Linked DNA regions of Homo sapiens: region 1 is linked to region 2. Evidence: promoter capture Hi-C in 16 types of primary human blood cells and fetal thymus (Javierre and others, 2016). All regions are on one chromosome and are shown on one strand. Each heading gives the region's core, a stretch centred on a gene start or on the middle of the fragment in contact. The rest is flanking DNA. Distances are from core to core; before and after follow the strand shown.

Region 1 (7,519 bases), core at 404-2,903, 980 kb before region 2:
GGCCAATAAGAAAAAGAATTCAAAGATCAACCTCTTTGCTTTCACAGCATTGGCCACATTATTCACCATCCATGAATCAAACGAGACTCCAGGTTCCAGCTCAGGAAAAGTGATGCCAGGGACACTGCTGGAGTTACAGCCATTCAATCCTGTGAAAGTTTTTACAGGCAATTGGGTAGCTCCGCACTGCTGCTAAGTACCTCTTTTATTCACCTCTTCTTAATCTATTCACATATTTATCTTAACAATTTCTTGAATTTTTCTCCCTTTTCATGTTACAAACTCTTTCCTGAATCTTTCCATTGAATGCATGTTTCCCATTTACCTGATGAATTGCCTCAGCCCCTCTGTTCTCCTACCCTAAACATCTGTTTTTCTCTATACCTTGCCTCCATTCCTTCAACTCCAAGGAAAGGCTTACCTTGCCACCTATTCTCACCCTCCTGGATATTCAATCATCCTGTCTTTCTCCAGCATCTTCACCGTTTTTGTCTTCATTTTCTTCCTTTTGGCTTTCTACAAAAATGCACAAGAATATCCGGTCTAGAGGAAAACACACACGCACAGTCAAAAGTGAAGAGGCCCAACTTAGATGAAATTCTGTCTCACCCGCAGCTTTCTCTCTGATCAGAAGTTTTCTTCTGAATGAACTCCCATCCATAGTTCTTGTTGACTAGGCCACCAGCACGGTGCTTATGAGTTAATCATTGCCTTGTATTGCTAGTTATCTTCTTACCTGTAATGATCAAGCTATCGGTAGGCTCCTTCAAGAAGGGACCTAATAGTTTTTGTTATAACTCTCAGTGCCTAGCTGATTTGAGATCAAGACTATAGTCTATATTGATGTTCTGGATTATGTGGACATAGCAAATAAAAAAAGTTGCATTAAAAATATTAGAATAATTAAACAGAAGTAGATTTGTGATGTAGTGGCTAAACAATAATGCCAGTGAACCTCATAAGGAGCTTTCTACTGAAGATTCCCAGGTCCCTTCTCATACCAGGGCAGTTCTTTGTTCCCCTTTTTCCATAACTGCAGGCCCAAAGGAGTTAAGTTTATTTTCCTCTCTTCTTAGCAGTGGCCATTATCCATCCAATTTCTCAGTATCAGAGCCTCTCAAAGCTTGGGATGGACATAAGCTACTTCCATTTTTTGAAAGCTCCTGGTATATTAATGGATAAATGAATTTCAGAATAAGATTATAAGAATTATTTAGCAATTTAGCACTTTTAACATATGCATTGTTATTATTCATGGGATAATTAAAGGATTTATTAAAAATATTAATGTAGATCTTACACAGGCTATGTGGTTGGATCGTGGGACATGGGATTAAAATCAAATGGTGATTGTCTTTTTCTTTCCACTGGTCAGCGTATGTGATTATATGTGATTATGTGCATATTCTTTCTTGGAGACAACTTCCAAAGTGTAAATTTGAGGCCCTTTGTGTGTGGAAGCTCCAGGCCAAGTAGCTTCCCTGTACTGTGTTCCTGCTTCCTTCAGTACACACAGACACAGAGAGATACAGACACACAGACACACGGACACACATGCCAGGTGATAGGCTCTGCTTGGAGATAAGCTCTCCCCAAGACCGGCTCAAGTGGTAGGAAGTCTCGCAGGTATCACCCCTTTTTGCTGTTCCTAAATATAAGGGTATAGAACTACTAGGCTTTGAGGGAAAACAAAAAATGAGCATGCTTATGTTAGTAACTTTGGGAAACAAATAGAAACAAAGGTTTTCTATTTCTAGTTCCTTATATATACCTGCTAACTCCCTGAGCTGAAGTAGCCTCTGAAGGCTCTGTGATTCTGTTCTCCCTTTTATTAATCTGAGGTAAATCTTATCAAAGCAACTTGGTTACTCTTACTCAACCTTTTGTGAAGACCCCCTTGCTCCACCATGGTCCTTTCTCTCGGCCCTAAGAAGTTCAGTGTAGTCATAGGGCACTCCAGTACCCTGCTAGCATCATTGAAGCCTGCTCTCAGGTAAGGAGCTGCTAAACTCATTACACCTTGACTCACATAATTGATAAGGCATATTACTCAGCCTTTCCAGGGACTTTCCATTTTAACCAAAGACAAAGCCTTACTTTTAAAGAGAAATAATCTGTAAAGCACCATAGTGCTACGTAGAACGGAAACTACTGCTGTTAACTATTTAGGCTTTTAAGCTTCTGACTTTTCTGCTGTAAGGAATTTTAAATTTTGATATAGACAGAACTGGTTAGTGATAACTAGAGTTTCGCTTCTTGCTCCATGCCGTTAATGTACAGAAATGATGAAACAGAGCAAATTCATCTATCAGCTATGTAGAACAGTCTATGAAATATATTTATTTATAACAGAATGACCATAGTATTTAAGCATTCTTTTATAGAATACCTACTCCTTCAGGGAAAAAAAAACACCGTAGTATCACTGCTCAGAATTTTATTATAGTTTAGTATTATTGGCTTGCATTTTTGTAATTTTATAAGAAAATTTCCATTAAATATCTGATTCATTTTTTTGGCTCATGATAATGTCTAACAGCTATAACACCAGCACACCAGTGTCTGCATTAGACAAATATAAGACCAAGTATGATTAACCTATAAACTATTTTTAATTACCTTTTACTGTTCTTTAAAATAGTATGTTTTTGAGGAAGCAGAAGCAGAGTTGGAGTACCTTGATATTACAGAGCTTTATAGAGCAAGTATATGGACTTGGATTATTCATCATAATTTGCAAAGATTCTGCTCTACAGAATTTTTGCAGCAACATCTCAAATTTGTTGCTCTGGTGAATGTCATAATGAGGACATTTACAGTGTGAATTCTGGAGAAGACTGAAACATTTCAAATCTTTATAGCATTTTAATGTTCTGTTGTCCTTTTTGATAATCAGATCTTGATTAAGAGGTAGAATTAACACCCAGTAGGACATCAACATTTCTTGACTTGAATCCTCTGCGTATCTTTTGTCTTTAGGACAGTTGAGGAATGATTTATGGACTTTGTGACTCTGAAACAAAAAAAGTATCTAAAATGCGTATTTGTTATTTTCTACAAGCCAATTACATCTTGTTTAGAGTATGACACACAAGGTAAACCTGGAAGGAAAAATAATTAAAGTGCTGTCATTTTTTCACATTGCCTTATTATGATGTTTTAATTCATTCTTACTTTTATAGAGCAGTCATTCCCATGTCCTTCTCCTTTGGGGTCTATTCCCTTAGTTACCGGCAATTTGCCACTTCCTCTCCCAGCAAGTTTCCTTAGGTGAAGACAATAGTGACTCCTACCATATAGAACATTGCACACTTTATGGGGTGCTTACACTCATATTCTTGGTATTTTTCACAATCCCTAGTTTTTAAAAATAGTTTTATTGAGCTATATTTCATATGCCATAAAATTCTCCCATTCAAAGTACTCAGTTCAGGGTTTTTTAGCATATTCAGAGTTGTGCAACCATCACCACAATCTGATTTTAGAACATTTCAATATCCCCCAAAGAATCCCCATTCTCATTAGCAGTTACTCCCCATTTCTGCTCCCACACCACTCTGGCCCTGTCCCATTCCCAAGCAACCACTAATCTATGTTCTATCTCTATGAATTTACTTATTTTGGACATTTCACATAAATGAAATAATATACAGATTTTTGTGACTGGCTTCCTCACTTAGAGTATTGTTTTCAAGGTTCATGCATGTTGTAGCATGGATGAGTAATTATTCCTTTCTATTGATGAACAATATTCCATTGTGTGGATAGACCACATTTTATTTATTCATCAGCTGATGAGCCTTTGTATCGCTTCTAATTTTTGCTATTATAAATAACGCTGCTATCAACATTAACGTAAAAGTTTTTATGTAGACATATATTTTCATCTATATAAGGATGAGGAAAATCAGACTATGAGTGCTAGAATCTAGGCTTTCTAACTCCTAATATGGCACTCTTTCTACTCACTATAGTCCAGAAATTTTAGAGATACAAGTTATTTTTAAAAATCTAGTGTCACTCATTGTTTCTGTTTCTGGACTTGATTTGCATCCAATATGTGGGAACATATTTTGATTTTTTTCTCCAGATATTTTAAACACTTTTATATTTGCTCATATATCTCTTAATAACTCAGATTGCAGATAGACCACATTGCCATCCTTTTAGCAGGTCTCTAAAACCTGGTGACTTTAATATAATTTTTTAAAATAATAAATAATTCTGAAGGAATTCTGTGGAGAGTTCTTAGGGAATGAGCCACCCCTTGTTATGGGCCTTAGAAAGCTGAGCAGATGAATGCTGTGTGAATGACTTGGCTGTAATCAATCAACATAATGTAAACGATGTGAAATTAAAATTGAGTGCCTGAATGAGCGGTGATTACACTCATTCTGCACTACTCCAAGTACAGAAACAGTGTGCAGCTCTCAGGTAGCAACTTCCAAGAAAACAAGTCCTCTGGAAGTCCACCCACAGCAGCTGGTTGCCACTATTTTCATCTGTGCCCTTCTTCAGAGTCTGCGGGGCTTCCTCAGTGGTTTCCTTATTCTAGCCCCATAGTCTGCCTCATATTTACCTTTAAATTGCCTCTTTTTATGCACCATAAGAATGACCTAAATAAACTTCCTCTTTCACTCATCAGTATTTTTAAGGGAAAAATTAGGTCCGTCACGGTTGAATAACCTGCTGGCCCAAGTTCACACAATTCTGGGACTCCTTAATCCTAATACATGGTAATCTTAACCCAAGAGAGGCAAAAAAACCTGAGAACTGTGGCTGATTGCAAGACATGACATTTGCTTTCTAAGCAATCTGAACAATTTTATTTGTCTTTGGCTTAGACTCCTGAGGTGGGACTCTCAAGCGTGGCTTAGGGAACTCCAAAACTCTGTTCTTACCTTTGTGGCGGTTACTGTCCTATTCTGCCGATTTTGATACATTATTTCCATGTGTCTGATATCTAACTCTCCCATGGGGCTGGGCGGGATGCTTCTGGCTCCTCCCTTAGCCTGATCCTGTGGCGTCTGCTTCCATTATGCCTGCATTCTGCTTTTTTTTTTTTTCCTCCATCTGATTGAGGTGTGGGTGGTCAAGTACTACAAAATTGGATCCAGGAAATAGTGGGCTAACTCTTATGGAAAGAACTCAAATAGTTGGCACAACTAGAGGGAAATTTGAGGAAAGTGAATATTTTCAGGCAGAACTCATAGTTTCCGCCTCTATGAAGCAAGGCCCTTTCCTCACCTCTCCATCTATGTCAAGAGCATAGATTAGGCACTTAGCAAATACTAAAATGTATTTTTGTCTCATCCCTTCTCTTGCCAATATCACATTAATTTATTTCTTGATTAAATGCTTTCTTTCTACCTACAATGCTCTTCACTAGAGCCACAGTTGTCTTTCTATCTTTATGCAGATCCTCCTTCTCTTTTAAGACCCACTATAAGTGAGTCACCTTTTCCAGCAAAGTTTTATCTTCCAAGACCTACCCTTTAACAACACTGTACAATTCTGAATTCGTAACATTTTGTTTATGCTTTTCAATCACAAACTCTTCTAAATGATGCCTAATGATATCCTGACATTTCATATATTGCACCTAGTTTCTCCAATGGCAATAGAACTGCTCATGGCCAAGAGCTGTGCTTTCTATATCTGTGAAATTTCCACAATTGTACTGGGCACATGAAACGAAGTTACTAAGTGCCAAACACTTTCATTTAAACCTAATTTATAATCTGGAGTTGAAGTTTAATTGTAACTACATCTGCTTTATATGCAGCACACATACTTTCATTATCAGTCACCCATGCAAGATCAGGATCAAAAAGAAAATGCATGTGGGGTGGTGTCGACTGGTAGATGTTAGGCATTGACGGTGTGCCAGGTACTGAGCTGAGAACTGGGGATGCGAAGACGAATTAAGGTATGGTTCTGCTCCCAAAAAGGTTATAGTCTGGCAAGGGAGACAAATATGTAAGCAAATAAGTTCAATGTTGAAGAAACAGGACATTCTGGATCTAGAACAACACAAACAAAAGTGCAAAGAAGGGGCTGAGTATAGTGTGTGTGTGTGCACGTGTGTGTGTGCGTGTAAAATTGATAGCAGCTTAGAGGAAGGAAAGAATGGGCCATATGAAGGCAATTGAAAGTTTAACAAAAAATTGAAATAGACTGTCAGTGCTGTCTAATAGAATTTTCAGCAATAACAGGAATGTTCTATATCTGTGCTGTCCAATGTGGTAGCCACTAGTGACATGTAACTATGGAGCATTTGAAATGCATCTAGTGTGACTGAGAAACTGTATTTTCATTGTCATTTTTTAAAATTAATTTAAATTTATATAGTCACATGTGACTAATGGCAATTATAATGCACAGTCCTAGACTAGATAGCCAAACTAGATGTAATGGAGTTTTCTGGGTCATGTGCTGAATGACATCATTCATTCTACCTGGGCTACCTATGCTCCAGACTGATGGGTCTGGGAGAAAAGGATATGCTACGGTGAATGACTGAGTTTTCTCACATCATCTTTAAAACCCTAGTTTTTTCATTCTTAAAATGACAGTAATAATGTCCTCCTCACAGGTTTTGGGGAGGATTAAATAAGATACTATATTTGAAATTGCTTTGTAAATTTAATATATGTAAAAACACTTCCTAAACGCTATAGTTCTTAAGCAGTTATTCTCAATGGGGGGCATTTGACAAATCTGTGGGTGCTTTCCGCTGGTCAGATTGGTTAGGAATGACACTGGCAATTAATTGGCATAATAGGGTCCAAAGAGGCTAAATGCCCTGCAGTGCATGGGACATTCCCACCAAAGTAAAATTTCCAAATCTCACAATGGGCATTTATAGAAGTGACAAGCCTACTTACTGTTGTTGAGCCCAGAATTTGCCCTGTTTAATATATAAACACAAAGTATTTTATATAGTTTCAATAAATTCTGAATTATCCAGGAATGTACATTAAGGGAAGAACACACTTTGTTTCATTTAAGAGTTATTCATTATTTCTGAAAATCAACAATCGAGTCAGTGCCACTCATAAAATTTAAATCTCCCTAATCAGCCTGTATTTGTAGTTATTGCATTTACCAGACTCTATATATAGGTATATCTGATTATTTCATTATGTCTTCAGTGTAGACAGTCTATGTATTTACATATAGAATTACTGTACATGTTATATTATAAATTATTTTCTTTTTACTTCTTTATGTCATAGTTAACACTCTATATTGATTTTTTAAAATTATATGTGTAGATAAATTCTATAACCTATGAATATCGTTTCAGGGTAGTAAAGGGGCCATTGCTAAATATTGTTTTGAAAAGGTAGCACTAATTCTGAGAGGGTTAGAACCACTATTCTAAAAACAATGTAGTCCTTGTTATCACTATATTATAACCTCTTAACTTTATCAGATGAATGTCCATTTCTGTGAAAAATACAAATTGCCACTTATCGTAGTTCACTAGTGCAATCCTTCCTGAGGTGGGACAACA
Region 2 (6,805 bases), core at 2,867-5,366:
AGCTGTCCAAAATTCACCAAAAAGAAATGGCTTTAAGTCTGATTTCTTTTTTTTTTTTTTTTTTTTTTAGATGGAGTCTTGCTCTGTCACCCAGGCTAGAGCGCAGTGGCGTGATCTTGGCTCACTGTAGCCTCTGCCTCCCGGGTTCAAGTGATTCTCAGCCTCAGCCTCCTGAGCAGCTGGGATTACAGGTGCACACCACCATGCTTGGCTAATTTTTGTATTTTTAGTAGAGATGGGGTTTTACCATGTTGGCTAGGCCGGTCTCAAATTCCTAATCTCAAGTGATCCACCTGCCTCGGCTTCCCAAAGTGCTGGGATTACAGGCGTGAGCCACCGCACCTGGCCAAGTTTTACTCTTCATAATTTGTATTCCTAAAACAATTTTCTCGACTATAAAGCTGTAATATTAACATACGTATCCAACAAATTATCATATATCCCTTGAAAATCACTGGCTTGGAGAATCACTAAACTTATTCCAAGCTAAGTATTCAAGGCTTATCCTCAAGTATCTTGCCATATCAGTGACTTACGCATACATCTAGAGATACCCAGCAATGCAGAAGAAAATAGAAGTAGGTGCTCAATAAATGATAATTACTTGAACCAGTGGGTTAAGAAGGAGTCAGAGAAGAGCATAAAGTTCAGTGAGTTAACAAGTAACAATTACCAAAATCAGCAATTTAGAGGGTACCCTACACACATTTCAACTTCTAGAATTTGAGTTTATTGTCATGAGAAAGTCACCCATTGACAGTAAAACTTGTCAAAGTAAACATATAATAGACAAAACTAAATGATCTTTTTAAATGGTACATAAATTATAAGCAAAGAAACTTGAGAAATATCCAATTATGATCAGAGCCCAAAGAATATTCTTGGGAATGAAATGTAAAGAAAAATACAACTAAATCAATTAAGAATTTACCAAGGAGTGATACAAGGGCTAGGCCTTGAATGCAATCTACAGAAAGGCAGGGTATTTGGCCAGCACTGAAGATGTTCTAATGCTAAACATCAGCATAATCCCTTAAGGAATTATTCCTATAGTTGAGAAAAGCAATCCACCGTATTAACCCCAGTCTAACAGAAATGTCTTTGAAACATCTAACACTGTTCTAGTTGAAGGATAGAGGATCCTGGGTTACTGTTCTCCTGCACCTAAAGCAGAAATCACTATGGGATCACAGCTCTCTTTCCTGATGAGCTCAGATGCTCCCAAACATAGGAGTTCCAGGCAGCCGCAACCAACAAATCAGAGCTGGCTCACACAATGAATCTGTATTCAAATTCCACATATATCAAGCATCTCTTTGACCTAATAACTTAGTCTCAGCAGACAGGGTGGGTTCCTGATGTGTCACCTACCTGGTTTCCAAGTTATCTGGTTTCTCCCACCAGAATTAGAAAACTGGCATTCTTGTCAGTTTGATTGACAAGGAGTTCAGCTCTGGAGTTATCCAGAAGGACAAAAATTAAAATCTCTGGCCTGTCAAACTGAAAGTCAGATCCTGGACTGGAGATCATCCTATCAGGTATAATAATTTGCCAGGCTGACAGCAACTAGCTGGCCTCCGTCCTTAGCTGACCTTGAGTTACTAAAGAAAAACAGACAGAAGTGAGCCCCTGGAAGCCAGTGGGTGTGATTTACCTTTACACCATTCTTACACAGGGTATAAATTCCAAAAGACATTGCTGTATGAGAGAGCAGTTCAATCATTTCAGAGTTCAGAGAAAGAGGGAACACCAGCTGAAGAGGATCATCTGCTATGGGAGAGGATTCTGAAGATCTCACATTAGGAAGCAGTCAAGAAATTCACAGCATAATGTGACCAAGCTCAGAATGTAAAGTCAATAAGAAGAGTTCAAAACTGAGAAATAGCTCCCAAGTAGAAACAGTAGAACTTTAAAAACATGAGCACTGAGGATGAAGAATCACATACAACTTCAAAGTCTAGGCAAAGAAATAGCCACAAACAAGAGTCTAGGGCAATACAGGAGGCTAGCAAGTACAAGACAATGTCCAGTGGGTTAGAGATGTATACCTGGGAGCCACCCAATTAGCTGAGAAAGAAGAGCAGATAAAGCCACGTCCTAAGGGCAGAGAGAAAACAGGTCACAAAAATGGGAACCAAACTTATTAGAAGGCACTGTGGAATGCCAGAATCTCAGTAATCATATTATTCTTTTAATAGCAACAAGCATTCATACAGTAGGTGCAGGCAGCCTTCTAAGGTGCTTGATACCTTTTAACTCATTTGAACAACCCTATGGAAATAGGAGTTATTGTTACTCCTATTTTATAGATACAGAAAATGAGGCACAAGAGTAGATGACCTCCCTAAGGTCACATTTTGAGAAACAGAGCTACAATTTTGGTACCAAATCTAAGCAAACCTGTATCCAGGGTCCCTAATCCTAACCACTAGGCTGCAGGGCCTCTTCTCAGTTGAGATGCCTGTTTCTGGCCAGGCGTGGGGCTCACACCTTTAATCCCAGCACTTTGGGAGGTGACGGCAGGAAGATTGCTTGAGGCCAGGAGTTCAAGACCAGCCTAGCCAAGATAGCAAGACCCTGTCTCTTATGTTAAATATACACACACACACACACACACACACACACACACACATATTATACATATAATTAAATTTTTTTTTAAAAAAAGACTCCTGCTTCTAACACTTAATTCAAAGAAACCACTGATCTCTGACTCTCAGTTTCCCTCTCTGTAAAAGGGGGTTGGCACTTGCCCTCCCTACCCTACCCAGCCTTTTGACACTTAATAAAACCCTAAGAGTAAGCTGCAGTTGTTCTCTACCAGGCCTACTTCCATCTAACATTTTTCTTTGCAGGATTTGGAAACAGGAGGGTAGGGAGACCTGAGGTCAAAGAATATATACCTTTTCAATGGCATTTCAAGTGCTGTTGGTTAGATAAAATTTCCATGACTCCACTAAAATAAAATAAGATTTCTTTCTGCCATCCAGCAATTGGTCTCTTATCTTGGGCATAAAGAAGAACATGATGCCTTTCTGAACTGGATGCCTTAGTACACAAAAGGACCTCTGAAACCTGGGGCTGTAAAAACAAGCGGGTGAAGCGGAAACTGCACTGCATAATGGATATAAGCAAATCCTCTGATACAAAAAGTTGGTCGCATTGTTGTTATTCTAATCAGTAAAATAATAACGATGCTCAGGGAGTGGAATGATTTTTTCGCCTTCGACCAGAGAAACAACAGAGTGGTCCAGTGGTTCCAGCCTAGATCCCTCCAGCTCCGCGAAAGAAGCCGAGATGCTGACTTTCGCACTGCTGCGGGCAAGGAACAGAAATGCACGCACGCATGCACACGCGCGCACACACACCCCTGACTCGCGACCACTGACCTTGAGAACTGGACCCCCGGGTTCTCAGCCCGCAGCGGTGTGGGGCTGGCTGCATCCCTCCCGGCACTCACCTCTAAAGTTTTCACTAGGATCTTCATGTAGATCTCGGAGATGCCCAGAGACACTCCGAAGACCGAAGGTAAAAGGATGAAGCCGAGAACCAGCGTCAGCCAGGTGGAAAGGATCTTCCCGGCCAGCTCTGCGCCCTCCATGACTCGGCGCACCCACTCAGGAGAGGTCCGCAGTGGAGGGCCGAGCGCCACAGCAGTCCCTGTCCCCAGGCAGTCCCGCGGGAGCTCCAGGAGCAGAGCGCCGAGCCCGGCACTCACCTCTGCGAAGGGAAGAGAGGAAGGAAAAAAACTTTCAGAATTACGGCAATATCCTTCCTTCCTCCCTGGGCTCCTCCTCGCCCCTGCCAGTTAACTCTTTCTCCGCTGGCTGCCCAGGTCTGGGCTGAAGCCACCGCGGCGTGCGGAGACCTGGGTAGCGCGAGCCAGTGGTCGGAGCTGCGGGTAAGCGGAGGCACACCGCGGCGCGGGCAGAGCGCGCGAGCGCAGCCAGGAACCCGCCCCGCCCGGTGCCTGATTTCCTCTGGGTGGCGATTGCGACAACTCAGCAGATGACTCACGGAGGCCCTCCCCGAGCCAGGTTCCCTGCGGGAGCACCGCACTTTGGCACACCGGTCGCCGGCGGAGCTGGCACCGGGCCGCGGGCTGTGCTGGAAGCTGGCTGCGCTCGGGCGCCCAGCGCCCTATTTCTGCGCGCTGCCCTCGCCCCACCTCCTCCGTCACCCAACGGGGGAGCTCCCTGGCAGTACTTAGCCCAGGAGTGCCGCAGCCTCCTGGGCGGTCTCCGTTCTTCCCCGCGCCCCGCCTCCCCCAGCACTCAGCAAAGGTCCTTTCAGGAGGAGAGTTTTCATCTGAAAAATGTCAATATTTTCTTCACCCGCAGAATGAACTGCTGACGTATCTGGGACGCTTGAGGTCTTGTTTGTGTGGGTGTAAAACGAACTCTTGGAAAGGGCTTCCAAGGACAGGAAAACGCAGAGCGCACCACGCAGCCGTGTACGCCGCTTCTGGCTTCCACACCTCCTTCCCCACATGGCCTACAGCTGTGGGGCTCAATCTTGCTTATCCCGAGAGTAGGAAGCTCTCTCCACGCGTTGCCTAGCCCACTGAGCCGCCATCTCCCTGGCACAGAAACCCTGCGGCTAAGTATCTGTCACTCCCTTTCTGGGGGAAGATTCCAACCACACCTTCCCCTACCATTCAGCCAATACTATCCGCGCTTAGGCGTAGCAGAAATGCCAGGCCGGCGCAAGCCTTCATTCACCAAGCTGACAGGTGTCTCCTGGGTGTTCAGGCTCCGCGCTTCTACCGCGCCAGCCCTTATCAGAGCAACGAAGGGCAAAACCCTGTATGTTATTTACTACATTGCTGTTCTCTTAGAGACCAGAACTATTTTTAAGAATGAGCAGAAGGGATTTTGAGAAGGGATTTTCCAGATTGCCGCTGAATTCGACCAAAATCTCTTACAGGTACTTTTCAGGTGTTGTTTCAAGCTGGAAAAAAACTGAGAGGGCCAGCAAACTGAATTGAAACAGCGCTGATAGCAAATATTGCAGAGAAAATGGTCCCTGCCCAGGGTGTGGAGGAAGTGGGGAGCCAACGAAGTGACAAGCCCCTCTGTAAAGAATGTAGATGTCTGCCTTAAGTACTTACTGCCAGGTAGCTGTCACAAGCCCCCTCCCACACTAAGAACGGAAAAAATTATAACTTGATGATTAAAACCAGGTTATGGACCGGGCGCGGTGGCTCACGCCTGTAATCCCAGCACTCTGGGAGGCGAGGCGGGCAGATCATCTGAGGTTAGGAGTTCAACACCAGCCTGGCCAACATGGCGAAACCCCCGTCTCTACTAAAAATACAAAAAAATTAGCCCCGCGTGGTGTCGCACGCCTGTAGTCCCAGCTACTCAGGAGGCTGAGGCAGGAGAATCACTTGAACCCGGGAGGAGGAGGTTGCAGTGAGCCGAGATCGTGCCACTGCACTGCAGCCTGGGAGACAGAGTGAGACTCAGTCTAAAAAAAAAAAAAAAGGGTTATGAATGAAGAAGTGTTAGGAGCTTGGTTTCTCAAAATTAAACCTCTGTAAGGTTGGCTAGTTTAGAAAAACACGGAAAACGCAACTACCGAAAGCTGCCCAAAGTCCTTGCTTTCAAACACTATATATATTGAGTGCAAAACTTCAAATATTATATTGGCATATTTAACACCATATGTTCAGGCAAAACTCTTATTTTCCTTTTATTTCCTCAAACCAAGATAACTAAGGAAGGCTAAATCCTTGTACCAAAGTTTACCCCACAAGGGAGATAATACACACAACTTTGCGTGTGCTGAGTGCACACACTCTCCAGTGATTTTTGGTGCTCATGAACAAACTCCACAAAATGGTTTTGGTTTGGTTTTGTTTTAACTGTTACGGAAGAATTATTCGTCCACAGCTGTATGGTGCAATGGTAATAAAATGGAATTTGGAGTCTTCGATTGAGAGCAGCACGAACACATATAAGTTTGAGCAAGTGCTTCTGTGCTTCACCTTTCTCATCAGGAAGATGGGTTCTTCTCAGGGTTGAAAGTGATTGTGAGCATGAAACTGCATGGTAAATGACAAAGCTCTATGCAGAGATCAGCAGGCAGCCTGGTGCAAGGGCAAAAACTCTTCATCTTTTTCTTGCCTAAAAGGCAGGAGAGCCAACACAGGCTCCCCAGGGTAACAAAGGCTCATCTTTGCAGTGATGGAGGAGGGTGAGGGAAGAGAAGAAATGTAGGGTGATCCTGACCCTGTCTCAAGTCGGGGAAAGTTGGTCCCGACTTGCCGCTCTCCTTGTCTCTCTTTCACTCTCCTCACCTCTCCTCCCTCCTCCATTCCTTGAGACTTAAACCTAGGTAGGAACCTACTTTCTCCGTCCCTGAAGTCAAGACCCCCTTTACTTACTGTATTTGTTTCCTAGGGATGCCTTCACAAATCACCACAAATTTAAGGACTTAACACAACAGAAATTGATTCTCTCAGTTCTGGAGACCAGAAGTGTGAAATCAAGGTGTCTGTCTGTAAGGTCACACTCCCTCCAAAAACTGTAGAGGAGAATCTTCCAGCTTCTGGTGGATCCCAGCATTCTTTGGTTTGTGGCAGCACACACATCTCTGCCTCAGTCTTCACATGACCTTCCTGTCTCTTCTTCCCATCTTTTCTTTTACAAAGACACATTATTCTGGATTTAGGGCCCACCCTCATCCAGGATGATCTAATCTTGAGATTCTTCCCTGAATTAAACTTAATCTGCAAAGACCCTTTTTCCAAATAAGGTCATATCCATAGTTAGGGGTGTTAGGACTTGGACATACCTTTTGG

Evidence for each region. Contacts are between HindIII fragments. The CHiCAGO score rates a contact against its expected background, and 5 or more counts as called.
Region 1: a contact is called between a fragment that was not itself captured here and the fragment with the promoter of GPAT3 in region 2, in 1 of 17 cell types (M2 macrophages). The highest score is 6.0, in M2 macrophages.

What each region holds. Positions count from the first base shown.
Region 1 is chr4:84,506,395-84,513,913 of GRCh38, reverse strand. No RefSeq gene overlaps it. Among named protein-coding and RNA genes, the nearest start is that of NKX6-1, 11 kb to the right of the region's middle. The HindIII fragment of the contact is 1,055 bases long and covers 1,126-2,180 here.
Region 2 is chr4:83,533,419-83,540,223 of GRCh38, reverse strand. It overlaps GPAT3 (glycerol-3-phosphate acyltransferase 3), which reads right to left and starts at 4,116. Exons shown (of 12, transcript NM_032717.5): 1 at 3,461-4,116. The coding sequence starts at 3,601. The HindIII fragment of the contact is 15,854 bases long and covers 1-6,805 here.